Linked DNA regions of Homo sapiens: regions 2, 3, 4 and 5 are each linked to region 1. Evidence: promoter capture Hi-C in 16 types of primary human blood cells and fetal thymus (Javierre and others, 2016). All regions are on one chromosome and are shown on one strand. Each heading gives the region's core, a stretch centred on a gene start or on the middle of the fragment in contact. The rest is flanking DNA. Distances are from core to core; before and after follow the strand shown.

What was found. The method cuts DNA at HindIII sites, captures the fragments that hold promoters and counts their contacts. A CHiCAGO score of 5 or more calls a contact.
Region 2: a contact is called between a fragment that was not itself captured here and the fragment with the promoter of ATF2 in region 1, in 1 of 17 cell types (neutrophils). The highest score is 9.2, in neutrophils.
Region 3: a fragment that was not itself captured here is called in contact with the fragment with the promoter of ATF2 in region 1 in 1 of 17 cell types (total B cells); the score reaches 5.1 in total B cells.
Region 4: a fragment that was not itself captured here is called in contact with the fragment with the promoter of ATF2 in region 1 in 1 of 17 cell types (M2 macrophages); the score reaches 5.9 in M2 macrophages.
Region 5: a fragment that was not itself captured here is called in contact with the fragment with the promoter of ATF2 in region 1 in 1 of 17 cell types (total CD8 T cells); the score reaches 6.0 in total CD8 T cells.

Annotation. Positions count from the first base shown.
Region 1 is chr2:175,166,927-175,169,626 of GRCh38, reverse strand. It overlaps ATF2 (activating transcription factor 2), which reads left to right and starts at 1,424. Exons shown (of 14, transcript NM_001880.4): 1 at 1,424-1,577. It overlaps MIR933 (microRNA 933), which reads left to right and starts at 1,918; the gene lies at 1,918-1,994. RefSeq lists a silencer at 1,406-1,475. The HindIII fragment of the contact is 6,773 bases long and covers 1-2,700 here.
Region 2 is chr2:172,550,642-172,553,341 of GRCh38, reverse strand. The region is part of intron 1 of PDK1-AS1 (PDK1 and ITGA6 antisense RNA 1); the gene reads left to right. Among named protein-coding and RNA genes, the nearest start is that of PDK1, 4.1 kb to the left of the region's middle. RefSeq lists a silencer at 227-521 and an enhancer at 227-521. The HindIII fragment of the contact is 1,167 bases long and covers 850-2,016 here.
Region 3 is chr2:177,614,923-177,617,622 of GRCh38, reverse strand. IFT70A (intraflagellar transport 70A) reads left to right here. Exons shown (of 1, transcript NM_152275.4): 1 at 1-2,700. The coding sequence ends at 919. It overlaps IFT70A-AS1 (IFT70A antisense RNA 1), which reads right to left. Exons shown (of 3, transcript NR_198966.1): 2 at 103-322. Among named protein-coding and RNA genes, the nearest start is that of IFT70A, 2.5 kb to the left of the region's middle. The HindIII fragment of the contact is 801 bases long and covers 887-1,687 here.
Region 4 is chr2:177,398,640-177,401,339 of GRCh38, reverse strand. All of the region lies in intron 1 of AGPS (alkylglycerone phosphate synthase), which reads right to left. Among named protein-coding and RNA genes, the nearest start is that of AGPS, 7.2 kb to the right of the region's middle. The HindIII fragment of the contact is 3,153 bases long and covers 1-2,700 here.
Region 5 is chr2:177,549,514-177,552,213 of GRCh38, reverse strand. It overlaps IFT70B (intraflagellar transport 70B), which reads left to right. Exons shown (of 1, transcript NM_152517.3): 1 at 1-2,700. The coding sequence ends at 1,448. Among named protein-coding and RNA genes, the nearest start is that of IFT70B, 1.9 kb to the left of the region's middle. RefSeq lists an enhancer at 1-418. The HindIII fragment of the contact is 254 bases long and covers 1,162-1,415 here.

The DNA.
Region 1 (2,700 bases), core at 175-2,674:
TGGAGAAGTAGCAATGAGAAATTTAAAACCAAAGCTACTGCCCAATTGAATCAACACTGGAAAAAATTTCAAATGGAAAAACAATTTTTTTAAAAAAATCTATTCTAATTGACCCAAACTTCTTTTGAAATGTCGTAACATTTGCAGTTCTTTTTCTCACATTAGTTGTTTTGGGAGATGGAGAGAGAAGCATCTATTTAATCAATGCGTTCTAGACCTAACAATTGTGATGTCAATCAAACATTTTGTCCACCATTTCCATCATGAGTAATCTGAACTGTGAGGTTTTGCTGACATAATTAGTGTTACACTACAATGGCACTACTACATTACTGTTACTATATGGGGACGGTACTTTCATTTTAAGTAGGAAAGTGTTAATAATTTGGCTTAATGTTTCTTAACTAAAATTAGTTTTAAAAGAGGACTGAGTTGGCTTATACACATGTATGCGGTCCAGAGACCTACCTGTTAAAATGTCAATGCCATTACAATTTCACTTTTATGCCAGATATCATTCTTGAACTTCAGGCTCATTAACTCTCATACTATCCCCCAAAACCTTTCAACAATTTTGAGAGTGTATTTTATGTTAATATATAAACTAGTTCATAATTTTGTTCCAGACTAGAAATCAGTATTTAATAAATGGAAAAAATAAGACACTGAAAATCTTTTATTGAATAATGTAAATTCTCACAGAGGCCTCTGATCATACTTTTCAACTTGTGCCTATTTATTGAATAACCAACATCCTTACAGTTAATATTAAAATCTTTAAGTTGTGTGGGGTTTTTTGGAGGGGAGGGATGGGCAATTACCAGCAAACTCCGCCTCCCCCAAACCTCACCTAACCCGAAGCTCCCCGCCTCAGGCTCCCGGGGAGCCAAGGGGTGGGCTGAGGAACGCAGCCTACTTTTACCCACCTCCCTACCTAGTGCTGGGAAGTGACGGAAACGGAGACACCCGGCTCCTGGGGCTGGGCTCGGAGGACCCATCCTGCTTTCCCTCTAGCAGCCTTTCCGGAGCTCACCACCTTTCCTCCCCTCACACCGCCAAAGCCCTGCCTAGCCCTTCACCGCCGCCTGCACCCGCGCCCTCCTCCAGCCGACAGCCAATCACAGTCTTCCACAGCTCCGGGTTTACAGAAGTAACGCTCCTTGGGCCCTCTGGTCCCGCCCCCTCCAGAACTGCTTCCCGCCCTTCGGGCTCCTTGTCCAATCATGAGCGCCCGAGTGCTCTTTGATGCCCGTCCCCTCTACCCGCCCTGCCGAAGACCCGCCTTCTTCTCCTTAAGCCTGACGGAATCACCTGACTCGGAGGCGCTCCCTCAGAAGGAAGGCAAGAAGGGGCGTGTGGGTGAAGGGGAGGGGCGCCAGAAGGAAGGTGGGGATGCCGGGAGCGGGGCGAGCGGGCGGGGGTTGTCAGTCCGATCTCGCGAGAGAGGACGGAAGCCTGTGGGAGCCCGTGGCCTTTAAAGTGCCGTTCAGCCTTTTCCTCCAGGGGTGCTTTGTAAACACGGCTGTGCTCAGGGCTCGCGGGTGACCGAAAGGATCATGAACTAGTGACCTGGAAAGGTGAGTAACGATGGGCAGAGGTCAGCAGGGCTGGAGACTGTAGGGATACGGAGAAAGAAGGCGCTAACATGGCGACGTCGCTCAGCACAGTCCCCACCCCCCGTTTCCCATCACCTCGGGTGCTCCTGACGTGCTCCTTAGCCCTTGGGGCGATTGTGGCTGTGCTGCCACCTCGGCGGCCCGCGCGGTGTGGGCTTTGGGAACCTGACTGGCTGGGCCGGACCGTTAGGTAACCAGCGTTCGTTGTTCCGGCCCCTCCCTCTCGCGCGCTTTCCTAAGGCAGAGGAAAAAGGAATAACGGCTCCCTCTTAGACCCCTCCCTCCGAATTATCTTCACCCTACTTGGGTCAGTTCAGAGGTCCTCGGGGCGCGCGTCGAGTCAGCCGTGTGCGCAGGGAGACCTCTCCCACCCACAGTCCTTGGGTTGGGCGGGGAGAGGGCCCACTCTGGTCTCCCCACCCAGTATTCAAGCGATTGAGGACCGTGTATTGGTGATGGTGGCGGGGAGGAGGATCGGGAGGCGCGGCTGAAAATAGAATCAGGGTCCCTGGCTGCGGTGCAGCTTGAAGGAAAGAATGGTGTGGAGAACCTAGGAGCTGGAAGTCTCGGCCTTTTCCGTCCTTTCCGCCACCCTCACAATCCCGCTACCCCCAGCTTTTTCCCGGTGGGGCGGGGCTTAGGTGTGGGTGCAGACTGATTCTGGTATTTTCCCTTATTTTTTTTTTTTTAAATCTCTGGGTGGACAGCAGAGCGTATGTAAAGAAATAATTTGCTTTTCATCAATGCCCTAGGGACCAGGGCCGAAAGGGAGTGTGTGTACGTGTTTTCTATGTTCGCTCGTTTAACCGAACCTAGGAGGAAAAAGAGAGGAGGAGCTGGGAACTATTTTTGTGCCCCTAGGTAGTATAAAATTGGCTTTCTTTAATGGAGAGTCTTAAAACTGGTGAGGCCAAGAGCAAAACTACTGTGAATATCATGGAGTAAAAGAGATTACTCCTGATGGACCTTAGGCATCAGAAATTTTAGTGAAAGAAATGTTTCTCTTAAAATTCAACACCTATTTTAAATAGTGATGTAAAGCATTTCTTTACATGTACCTTCAGGTTTTCTAATGCTTTCCTGG
Region 2 (2,700 bases), core at 184-2,683, 2.6 Mb after region 1:
GGCAACATAGACCTTGTCTCTACAAAAAATGAACAAAATTAGCTGGGCATGGTGGCACTTGCCTGTAGTGCTTCGTGGGGAGCATCACTTGAGCCCAGGAGGTGTAGTTTGCAGTGAGCCAAGATCCTGCCACTGCATTTCTGCCTGTGTGACAGAGCGAGACCTTGTCTCAAAAAATAAGTAAACTAACAAATTAACTAGAAGATTAGAAATTATAGCTCAGGAGTCATGCAGCCAGAGTCCACAAGATCACCAACCTCCACAATTGCTCCTATAGATAACATTGCTATTATAAAACCTAACATTGGTGTTTGAGTTATTTTTCAAATCCTGAATTCCAGTGGACCAGCTGGAACCACACAGATAAGTAAAATGACTCATCTGGTCTTGTGGCCCCCTCCAGAAACTGACTCAGCATAAGATGACAGCTTCGACTCCCTATAATTTTATTCCTGACCCAACCAATCAGCATTCCCCATTCTATAGCCTGCTGTCTGCCAAACTATAAAAAAACCCTAGCCTCTGAATTTTCAGGAGGTTAATTTGAGTAGTAATAAAACTCATCTTCTGTTTAGCCAGCTCCACATGCACTAAACTCTTTGTCTTGATAAATTGGCTCTATCTGGTCAGCAGGCAAGAAAAACCTATTGGATGGTTACATGAGGACACAGCAAGAAAGCCCTTATGAGACACTGAGTTCCGGCATCTTGATCTTGAACTTCACAGCCTCTAGAACTGTAAGAAAACTAATTTCTGTCATTTATAAATTATCCAGACTGTATTTTGTTACAGCACCACTAACAGACTAAGACACACATGTAGATATAAAGTGTAATCATACTGTAAGCTTCTATAAAAAAATTTTTACATAGCAGACATGAGCCAGCCCCTGTAAATTCACTGAGAATTTGTGATCCATGTTGGACTGATGTGACTGAAAGGAATGGAAAAAGCAATACAAAACAAGCTAGACTGTGTCACCTTGTCCCCAGTACCCTCTGGCTTCATGAGGTTCAGAAGACAAAAGGAAAGAAAAGTCATATTTTTTCCCCCTGCTTCTTTTCTTCCAAGCTATAATTTGTGTTCCTCTAAGTGTGGCCATAGCTTCCTACCCTTGTCCAGTATCCATAGAGATAGTACTAATTTTTCTCTGTTGCTGATTGGGTGCTCACCAGCCCTGGAGGTTTAATTCTGCCCACACTCCTGTAAATAGTCCCTTCATTAATTAATTAATCAATTTCCCTTTTGAGTGTGCTATCATTTCCTGCCCTAGAACCCTTTTTGATATGCTGGAAAGATAATTTTCAAAAAAGGTAAAATAATGACTCTCATGCAGCTATAAAATGAACATGTGTCAAAAATTTTATTTAATACATTAATTAAATGAGGGAACCAGTAAAGATATTATAGCCAGTTCAAAGGAGAAGTGAAAAAACAGGAATTCAGAAAAATTTGCAAAGGCTGTAAAACTGGCTCTTTCCTTGGGAATCAGGGAGGGTTGCCCTTCTACCTGACAGAATTTATTTGCACATGTATAGGTAAGAATTATGTGCGTTGTTACCATTTATCTGCAATTTACAGAGTTGTAAAATAGCTCAAAGACAGTGAATTGGAATCAGATACCCTGAAAAGTTGTGCTCTAAACAATACGTAATATTCCACTGAAGCATAATTTTTCTCCATATACATTTGCCTTCTTTCTTTAAAGGGTACTTTGATTCAGGTAATTACTTGTGTAGTGATATGAGGGCATCCTATTCACCAGGATTTATTTAGCACAAACATAGTTTTTATCTGGAGTAAGTGCTTTGAAATGCTGATGGAGTGGAAGGAGAGATCTGTAGGGAAGGCTCAGAACAGCTTTACAGGAAGCAAGGAGAGGAATTCACTTTGTAGAGCAAAGGGGAAGGGGAGGAGGCAGAAGATTGCAAAGACTGTTCACAATGTGAGCACTCCTTATAACCCAAACCTTCAGTAAAGTTTGCAAAAAAAGAGAGATTATTGGATACTGAAGCTTTTATGTGTTGTGCTTTTGTGAAAATTGGAGGAAAGGATGAATTTTTTTTATGAGAGTTTGTGGCAATGGAGATAGACTTTGCACACAAAGAGTCTGAGTGGTGGTGGGGTGGGGGGTACTATAAATGAGACTATGAGCCTCAAGAATTTACAGACATGGACAGGGAGAACTCTAGACTTTCACAAACTGAGACTGGTAATGTTAAAAGATAAATTTGGGCACATTAAAAGTTTTAAAAATTTATTTGAACTGTTGATTTAAAAAAAAGACTCAAACTCTGTAAAATATTTTAAGAGATTTATTCCGAGCCAAATGTGAGTGACCAAGGCCTGAGGCACAGTCCCAAGAGGTCCTGAAAACATGTGCCCAAGGTGGTCGGGTCATAGCTTGATTGTGTACAGTTTTAGGGGAACAGAAGTTGCAGGCAGACATCACTCAGTACATGTAAAGCGTACACTGCTTTGGTCTGAAAAGGCAGGACAACTTTAAGACGTAATATAGGGGGATTGGGAAACTTGTGGCAGGAGGGGGCTTCCAGGTTATAGGGAGAGTCAAAGATTTTCTGACTGGCAATTGGTTGAAAGAGTTAAGTTACTATCTCAAGACCTAGGATCAATTGAAAGGAGTGTCTGGATTAAGACAAGGGGTTGTGGAGACCAAGATTCTTATTACACAGATAAAGG
Region 3 (2,700 bases), core at 38-2,537, 2.4 Mb before region 1:
CTTCTTAGATGCCCTGATCACTTGCCAGACAGCTCCTGAAGAGGCTTTCATTAAGCTTGATGGGCTAGCAGGGATGCTGACTGAGCAGCTTCGGAGACTCACCAAGCAAGTACAGGAAGCAAGACACAACAGAGATGATGAAGCTATCAAAAAGGCAGTGAATGAATATGATGAAACCATGGAGAAATACATTCCTGTGTTGATGGCTCAGGCAAAAATCTACTGGAATCTTGAAAATTATCCAATGGTGGAAAAGGTCTTCCGCAAATCTGTGGAATTCTGTAACGACCATGATGTGTGGAAGTTGAATGTGGCTCATGTTCTGTTCATGCAGGAAAACAAATACAAAGAAGCCATTGGTTTCTATGAACCCATAGTCAAGAAGCATTATGATAACATCCTGAATGTCAGTGCTATTGTACTGGCTAATCTCTGTGTTTCCTATATTATGACAAGTCAAAATGAAGAAGCAGAGGAGTTGATGAGGAAGATTGAAAAGGAGGAAGAGCAGCTCTCTTATGATGACCCAAATCGGAAAATGTACCATCTCTGCATTGTGAATTTGGTGATAGGAACTCTTTATTGTGCCAAAGGAAACTATGAGTTTGGTATTTCTCGAGTTATCAAAAGCTTGGAGCCTTATAATAAAAAGCTGGGAACAGATACCTGGTATTATGCCAAAAGATGCTTCCTGTCCTTGTTAGAAAACATGTCAAAACACATGATAGTCATTCATGACAGTGTTATTCAAGAATGTGTCCAGTTTTTAGGACACTGTGAACTTTATGGCACAAACATACCTGCTGTTATTGAACAACCCCTCGAAGAAGAAAGAATGCATGTTGGGAAGAATACAGTCACAGATGAGTCCAGACAATTGAAAGCTTTGATTTATGAGATTATAGGATGGAATAAGTAGTTATGACTGATAGTGGCTTTTTTCAAAATGGCTTTCTTACGTACCACACTTTTTTTTATCTGTATTTAGCCTTGGCATCTTTATATTTGTCTTATTTTGAATCTTATCCACTTTGTAAGAACAAGTTTATGTTTGAGCAACTTTTTCATTTAATCCAGAAGGGTAGGGACTATGCAGTGTAAGCTGCATCACTTCTGCTTTCTTCCTACTAGTGACAATCATCTGGTCTTGCCCTCAAGCAACAATTGCTAGAGTAACATCTTTGTATAAGCAAGTAACCCCAGATAGAGTTGACGTTTCAGCTTTGGGCTGTCAAAAGGGTATGTCATGGACCAAAGCACTGTTAGTACGGGTATGTTTGCATTTGGTCACTGATATGTAAATGACTGCTAGCCCACGGCTGGACCACTTCTCAATCAGCAAATAAAGCCATGTCTATTTTGCTATCTCAGCATAGACTATGCTGTCTGATAAATCTAATTCTTAACTCTATTTCTCCAGTTTTTTAGTCCTTTAACTTTCTGGATTGCAACGAAGTCTAGTTTAGACCTCTAAGCCCTTTTAGAAGTACAAGTATAATGGGAATTTCTTTTCTTGGTTCTTTTCAGGTTATGAGGTTTGGTCAGTGACAAAATTTTTTTTCATAATTTGGTTGATTGGTTGCTTCTTAAGTTTTATAATAAACGTTTTTCTTCATGTTCTATTTTTGATTTTACAGAAATGATTTTGCCTCCTTGTGGATACTGACATATATTAAGTGTGGAAGCTTATTAATATTTTTGGTTTTTTAAAAACTGAAATTTTTAATTTTTACTTTTTAATTTTTTAGGAAAAAATAAGCACTGAACTGAGAATGAGAAGAATAAAAGTATGAGTTCCATACCTTCTAATTTTAGGCTGTCAGAAATTCCTTTATTCTTTGGGATTTCACAATCATTTGAACTATCAGAAGCCTTTACAATTACTTTTAGCTGTAACATCCGATTCTGTATAAGCCACATAGAAAAAAGTTGCCTTTCTTTTTTTATGACCTGGATATATAAGCAAATCAGCTAGGAAATATATAATTGTATTTTATATTAATGTTTTCTAGGATTTTGGCTTACAGTAAATGTTAACCCCTATGGTAAGTGATTGTTATTGTTGGATGTTATACTGATTATTAATAAGAAATTTGGATTTTTGCCTTTTTACCTGGAATTTTTGCTTACAGCCGTAGCTATGAATATATATAGGGTGGTCCCCAGTCTCTGTTATGGTTGCGCATAAATTAATAATTTTATAAGTATTTAGAAATGGTATAATTCTCTTAACTTCCTCTTTCAGTTTTTGTACTAATGTTTGTTTTTGTTCGGGAAGAGGAGATTTGCTTTTAATCCTTCCAAAAAATGATGAACCACCGTTCCATTCAGTAGTTTGACAAGCTGTTATAATGTGTATTTTTTCCTCAATTATTCTTGAAATATTTAGAGCCTCTCCTGCTTCTAACATGAAGGCCTTTAGATGCCAGTCTGCCAGAAATCTGGAAACAGAGGAACCGGTGAAGTGAAGATGTAATGGAGATTTAGCTAATGATGTACTTCACAATCCACCTTGGATCTCCTGCATGTCCAAATCTCAGTAGTTAATCAAGTGTCTGCTGCCATTAACAGAACAGAAGTAATGGATAACAGAATGGAAATAAGAGATGCCAGAACTACTTCCATAACTAACTCACCAAATCAAATCATCAGTCCTCATATTCTTGTTTTATTTAATACAAGGAGAAGAGGCCATGCACT
Region 4 (2,700 bases), core at 154-2,653, 2.2 Mb before region 1:
CGATCTTAAAAGAATGAAAAGAAGTTCAAGATAGGGATTGAAGGATGTGACTGTGGGACTAGTGTTAACACTATGAGATATGAGAAAGCCCAGATAAATAAGTTCTAGAGAATGAGAAAGAAGATAATGAGTTAGGTTTCCACCTACACCTGTACTGGCCAGCACGGTATATCACTAGCCACATGTGCCTATTTAAATTAAAATTAAACAAAATTTAAAAGTCAGCTCCATAGTGGCTATGATACTGGATAACACAGATTACAGAATATTTCTATCACAGAAAGCTCTACTGGATAGTGTCGACCTACAAAATTTGAGTTGACAGCAAAATATCCACTCCATAGTATATGTGACTAAAGTGATAAGAGAATTCAAGTAGGTGTCATTTTAATATTCCTTAGGCTGGATTCCTATACAGTTAGTTCAAGCACCTTTAGAAAAAATGTAAAACCCAACTAGGTAATCAATCTGAGTTGGAAATGCGAACTTCTGTGATTATAGCAAATTAAATAGTTCACATTACTTGATTCTAAGGTCCTGGGATACCTGAGCATTCCCCTGCTTATAGGATGAGGTCTCTGACACAGCAACTATAAATAGAATTTGGAGAGTCCCACTGAGGTCAACAACAAGAATCTGGTCAGCAACCTGGCCAAATCTCTGATTAGTAATTTCAAACATGCTGGCAAGAACAAATGTTATATGCAATCATATAACAGTTTTCTTAGTGAATGACAAGACGATATCTACCCCTCCGAATCTCACCCAGGAGGCAAAACTCTCTCATCAAAAGTAACTGCAGTTACTGGAATAGTAGCAGTTTTTTTCAATGAGTAAGCGTATTTCAACTACTGAAAGATCCAGAATTAAATATACAAATGCTTAAGAGAACCAAAGACAGATGTTAATGTTTTTAAGAAAACTATACAAAAAATTGATATTTTATATATTTACAAAACTTAAGAGAATCTAGTCTTTAAGAATGACTGACTTGTAACTCAAATTTAAAATGTGTAATTGAGTAATAGAGTTGGACTTATGATTTTAAGCTGAAATCTTATAAGCTCGTAAATAATATGTGAACACTGCAAGGTCACTTTGTTTAAAAATCCAATTTAATTTATTTATAAAAATGATTTAGTACCTGGGAGCATTCTGTTTATTACCTCAAACAATTGATGTACTTAAGAAAAGTAAATATATTAATTCTTAAACACTATTTTAATTACTTTAACCTCTTCCTATGCAGTAATATCTATAAAAACACTAGTTTGATATGCACTTTATATTAAAACAAGTAATTATTCGGACCAAAAGTAACCACCACCTAAATGTTCATCAATAACAGAATGGATAAATTGTGGTATATATCTACCCAATGGAATACTATTCATCGATGAGGATAAACAAAATGTGACTAGATGCAACATGGAGGAATATCACAAACATAATACTCTGAAGGAAAGAAGCCAAACACAAAAAAGTACACACTGTATGATTCCATTTACATGAAGTTCAAACAGGCAAATCTATATGTTAGAAGTCAAGGTAGTGGTTATCCTGGTGGAAGGAGCCACTGGGATGAGCACAAAGAGGGCTTCCTAGAGTACTGGTAATGCTGTTTCTTAATCTAAATACAGATAAAATAGATGTGTTCATTCTGCAAAAGTTAATTATGCTGTAAGTTCTCTCTCTACTGTTTTGGTAGCATGTGTTAGGCTCTACACCTGCAGAGGAGGCCTTCTGTGGTACACTGCCTGTGATGGAGTGTAATTCAGGGTAAATATTAGGTAGTACAGATCTAAGCCACGATCTCCAACCAGCATTATCAGTAAAAAAGCTAATGTTTTTACCTCTCTGTCTGTATCCTGTGTCTTATCTCTCAGTTGATTCTGAGCCCAGATGTTGGGACAAGGATATGACAAAATATCACCCCCAAGACCCAACAAATAAAGAGAACACTAATAGGCAGAGAGCTATTAATACTTTATGCTACAACGGTAGACTCTAGTCATGATCCCTTGATTTGGTTTAGGGTTGAAATTAACATACTAATCGGAATAACAGCAGAAGTTATCTTCTCAATAATAAGGAAATAAAATCAAACGGAGTAATATTTGCTTAGCACTTGCTTTTAAAGTGTTCCATAAAGTATCTCATCTGACTACAACAGCAATCCATTTCTCTGCAGCCTAAAAACAGATCACTTAATTCATTCTCAGGTATTTTTATTAAATGACCACAAGGGTAGATGGCTCTATAGTAACTTCCCAACATAAAAAAGTCTATGTAGAGAAGGTCTGGTCCATCTTAAAATGCAATCTAGAGAAGCATATTAACAAATAACCACAGCGATTAAATCTTCAGTTTCCTGTTCATTCACAGTCCAAAGACAGTTTGCAACTAGGCAGTAAACCCTCCATGACCTATTCTCTTTTCCTCCTTTCTTCTCTGATCTTGGGTCTTCCACATTCTTCCTAATTCCCTTTCATTCCAAACACTGTCTTCTTCCACAAGTCAAATGGCAAAATGCACTCACAAAAGTAAACTGGCTGGTCTACCTTTTTAAACCACCCATTACATTTTCTTATTATGAATTTCATTTTGACAGAATGATGTTTTATAATTTATTAAGTACAACATAAACTAATGCCTTCTTAACTATATGACAAAGTATTTGATCATGATCTATTTAATCAC
Region 5 (2,700 bases), core at 39-2,538, 2.4 Mb before region 1:
CGGGCTACCAGCCTGACCTTTCCTACAACCTGGCTTTGGCCTATTACAGCAGCCGACAGTATGCTTCAGCACTGAAGCATATCGCTGAGATTATTGAGCGTGGCATCCGCCAGCACCCTGAGCTAGGTGTGGGCATGACCACTGAGGGCATTGATGTTCGCAGTGTTGGCAACACCTTAGTCCTCCATCAGACTGCTCTGGTGGAAGCCTTCAACCTTAAGGCAGCTATAGAATACCAACTGAGAAACTATGAGGCAGCTCAAGAAGCCCTCACTGACATGCCACCCAGGGCAGAGGAAGAGTTGGACCCTGTGACCCTACACAACCAGGCACTAATGAACATGGATGCCAGGCCTACAGAAGGGTTTGAAAAGCTACAGTTTTTGCTCCAACAGAATCCCTTTCCTCCAGAGACTTTTGGCAACCTGTTGCTGCTCTACTGTAAATATGAGTATTTTGACCTGGCAGCAGATGTCCTGGCAGAAAATGCCCATTTGATTTATAAGTTCCTCACACCCTATCTCTATGACTTCTTGGACGCTGTGATCACTTGCCAGACAGCTCCTGAAGAGGCTTTCATTAAGCTTGATGGGCTAGCAGGGATGCTGACTGAGGTCCTCCGGAAACTTACCATACAAGTACAGGAAGCAAGACACAATAGAGATGATGAAGCTATCAAAAAGGCAGTGAATGAATATGATGAAACCATGGAGAAATACATTCCTGTGTTGATGGCTCAGGCAAAAATCTACTGGAATCTTGAAAATTATCCAATGGTGGAAAAGATCTTCCGCAAATCTGTGGAATTCTGTAACGACCATGATGTGTGGAAGTTGAATGTGGCTCATGTTCTGTTCATGCAGGAAAACAAATACAAAGAAGCCATTGGTTTCTATGAACCCATAGTCAAGAAGCATTATGATAACATCCTGAATGTCAGTGCTATTGTACTGGCTAATCTCTGTGTTTCCTATATTATGACAAGTCAAAATGAAGAAGCAGAGGAGTTGATGAGGAAGATTGAAAAGGAGGAAGAGCAGCTCTCTTATGATGACCCAGATAAGAAAATGTACCATCTCTGCATTGTGAATTTGGTGATAGGAACTCTTTATTGTGCCAAAGGAAATTATGACTTTGGTATTTCTCGAGTTATCAAAAGCTTGGAACCTTACAACAAAAAGCTGGGAACAGACACCTGGTATTATGCCAAAAGATGCTTCCTGTCCTTGTTAGAAAACATGTCAAAACACACAATCATGCTTCGTGATAGTGTTATTCAAGAATGTGTCCAGTTTCTAGAACACTGTGAACTTCATGGCAGAAACATACCTGCTGTTATTGAACAACCCCTGGAAGAAGAAAGAATGCATGTTGGAAAGAATACAGTCACATATGAGTCTAGGCAGTTAAAAGCTTTGATTTATGAGATTATAGGATGGAATATATAGTAATAGCTGATAGTGGCATTTATCAAATGGCTTTGTTATGTAAATTTGCATCGCTTTATTTACCCTTTGGCATCTTTATATTTGTTACATGTTGAACTTTGTACACTTATGCATTATAAAAAAAAAAGTAGCTAAAACTTTTGCTGTTAAATTTCCCAGAAAGTGACATATTCTAAGAACTTTTACCCCAGGAGTTATGAAAAATTCCAAACTTATGAGGAATGTTTATATCAGAAGTTGTAATACGTTTGTTTCCTTTCCTCTGTTATCTTTTGTGCTTTGACGTATCTTGAGGGGTCTTTGCACAAGGATTACATCATTCAGGGACCAAGCACTATCTCAGTAATAGTTAAGAGTAGTCTTTAAATAATCATTTCAGGGATTGTGTGAGAGTAGTCTCACAATTTACACTCATTAATTTGTAATGCATACTTTTTATATAGACTTTAGGATATTTTGGCAGTGTTTATTCATATGGATATAATTCTTTACCTAACCAAAATTCCTTAGGTTATAAGTGGTTTTAACGTGCAAAAGTCAGTAAAAAATTTTGTTGCCTTAACAAAATTATGGTGCTATAATGTAGAGACAATGAACGATTATCAAAGAACAAATTTCCCTGGTTTTCTTTTGTTCCCTTTAATAATTTAAATATATGAACAAGATACACTGTTACTATTTTCCATGATAACTTTTTAAATATCTCTGTGAGAAATAACAGAGCTATCCTGAGAACTCAGGGGTTTGTTTAAGAGACACAGGTTTTGTTATGTTTGTTGCCCAGGCTAGTATCCAGCTCCTAGGCTTAAGCATACTCCCACTTCAGCTTCCCAAGTAGCTGGGACTACTGGCACAAATCACTGGGTCCAGTTCTCAGTTCTTAATTCCTACCTTTGTGTTTGCAATTTAGGATATGCTGGCTGTACAGTGTTTCCATGTTGTAGCCTCTTGAATAAGGAAAAATCTCAGCCACCAGGTCTGACCAAAAAGGTCAATTCTAAGTTGTAATGTTCATTTCATGTCCGCAACTCCCAAGAGTTATTTGGAGTTCCCACTGGGAACCACATGCATTCTGATCAGGCATTTTATTTTCTGAACCTTACAAGAGCCTTACTATTTGATTTCCCACTCCTCACTCCTCTCTTCCCACAAAAAGTAACTGTCAATCCTAACTTGACCTGGCTTAGAAAAATCAAGTGTATTAGACTGAATCATATGCAGTTGTTGATTTTGACAGTTTTTGATGTACAAA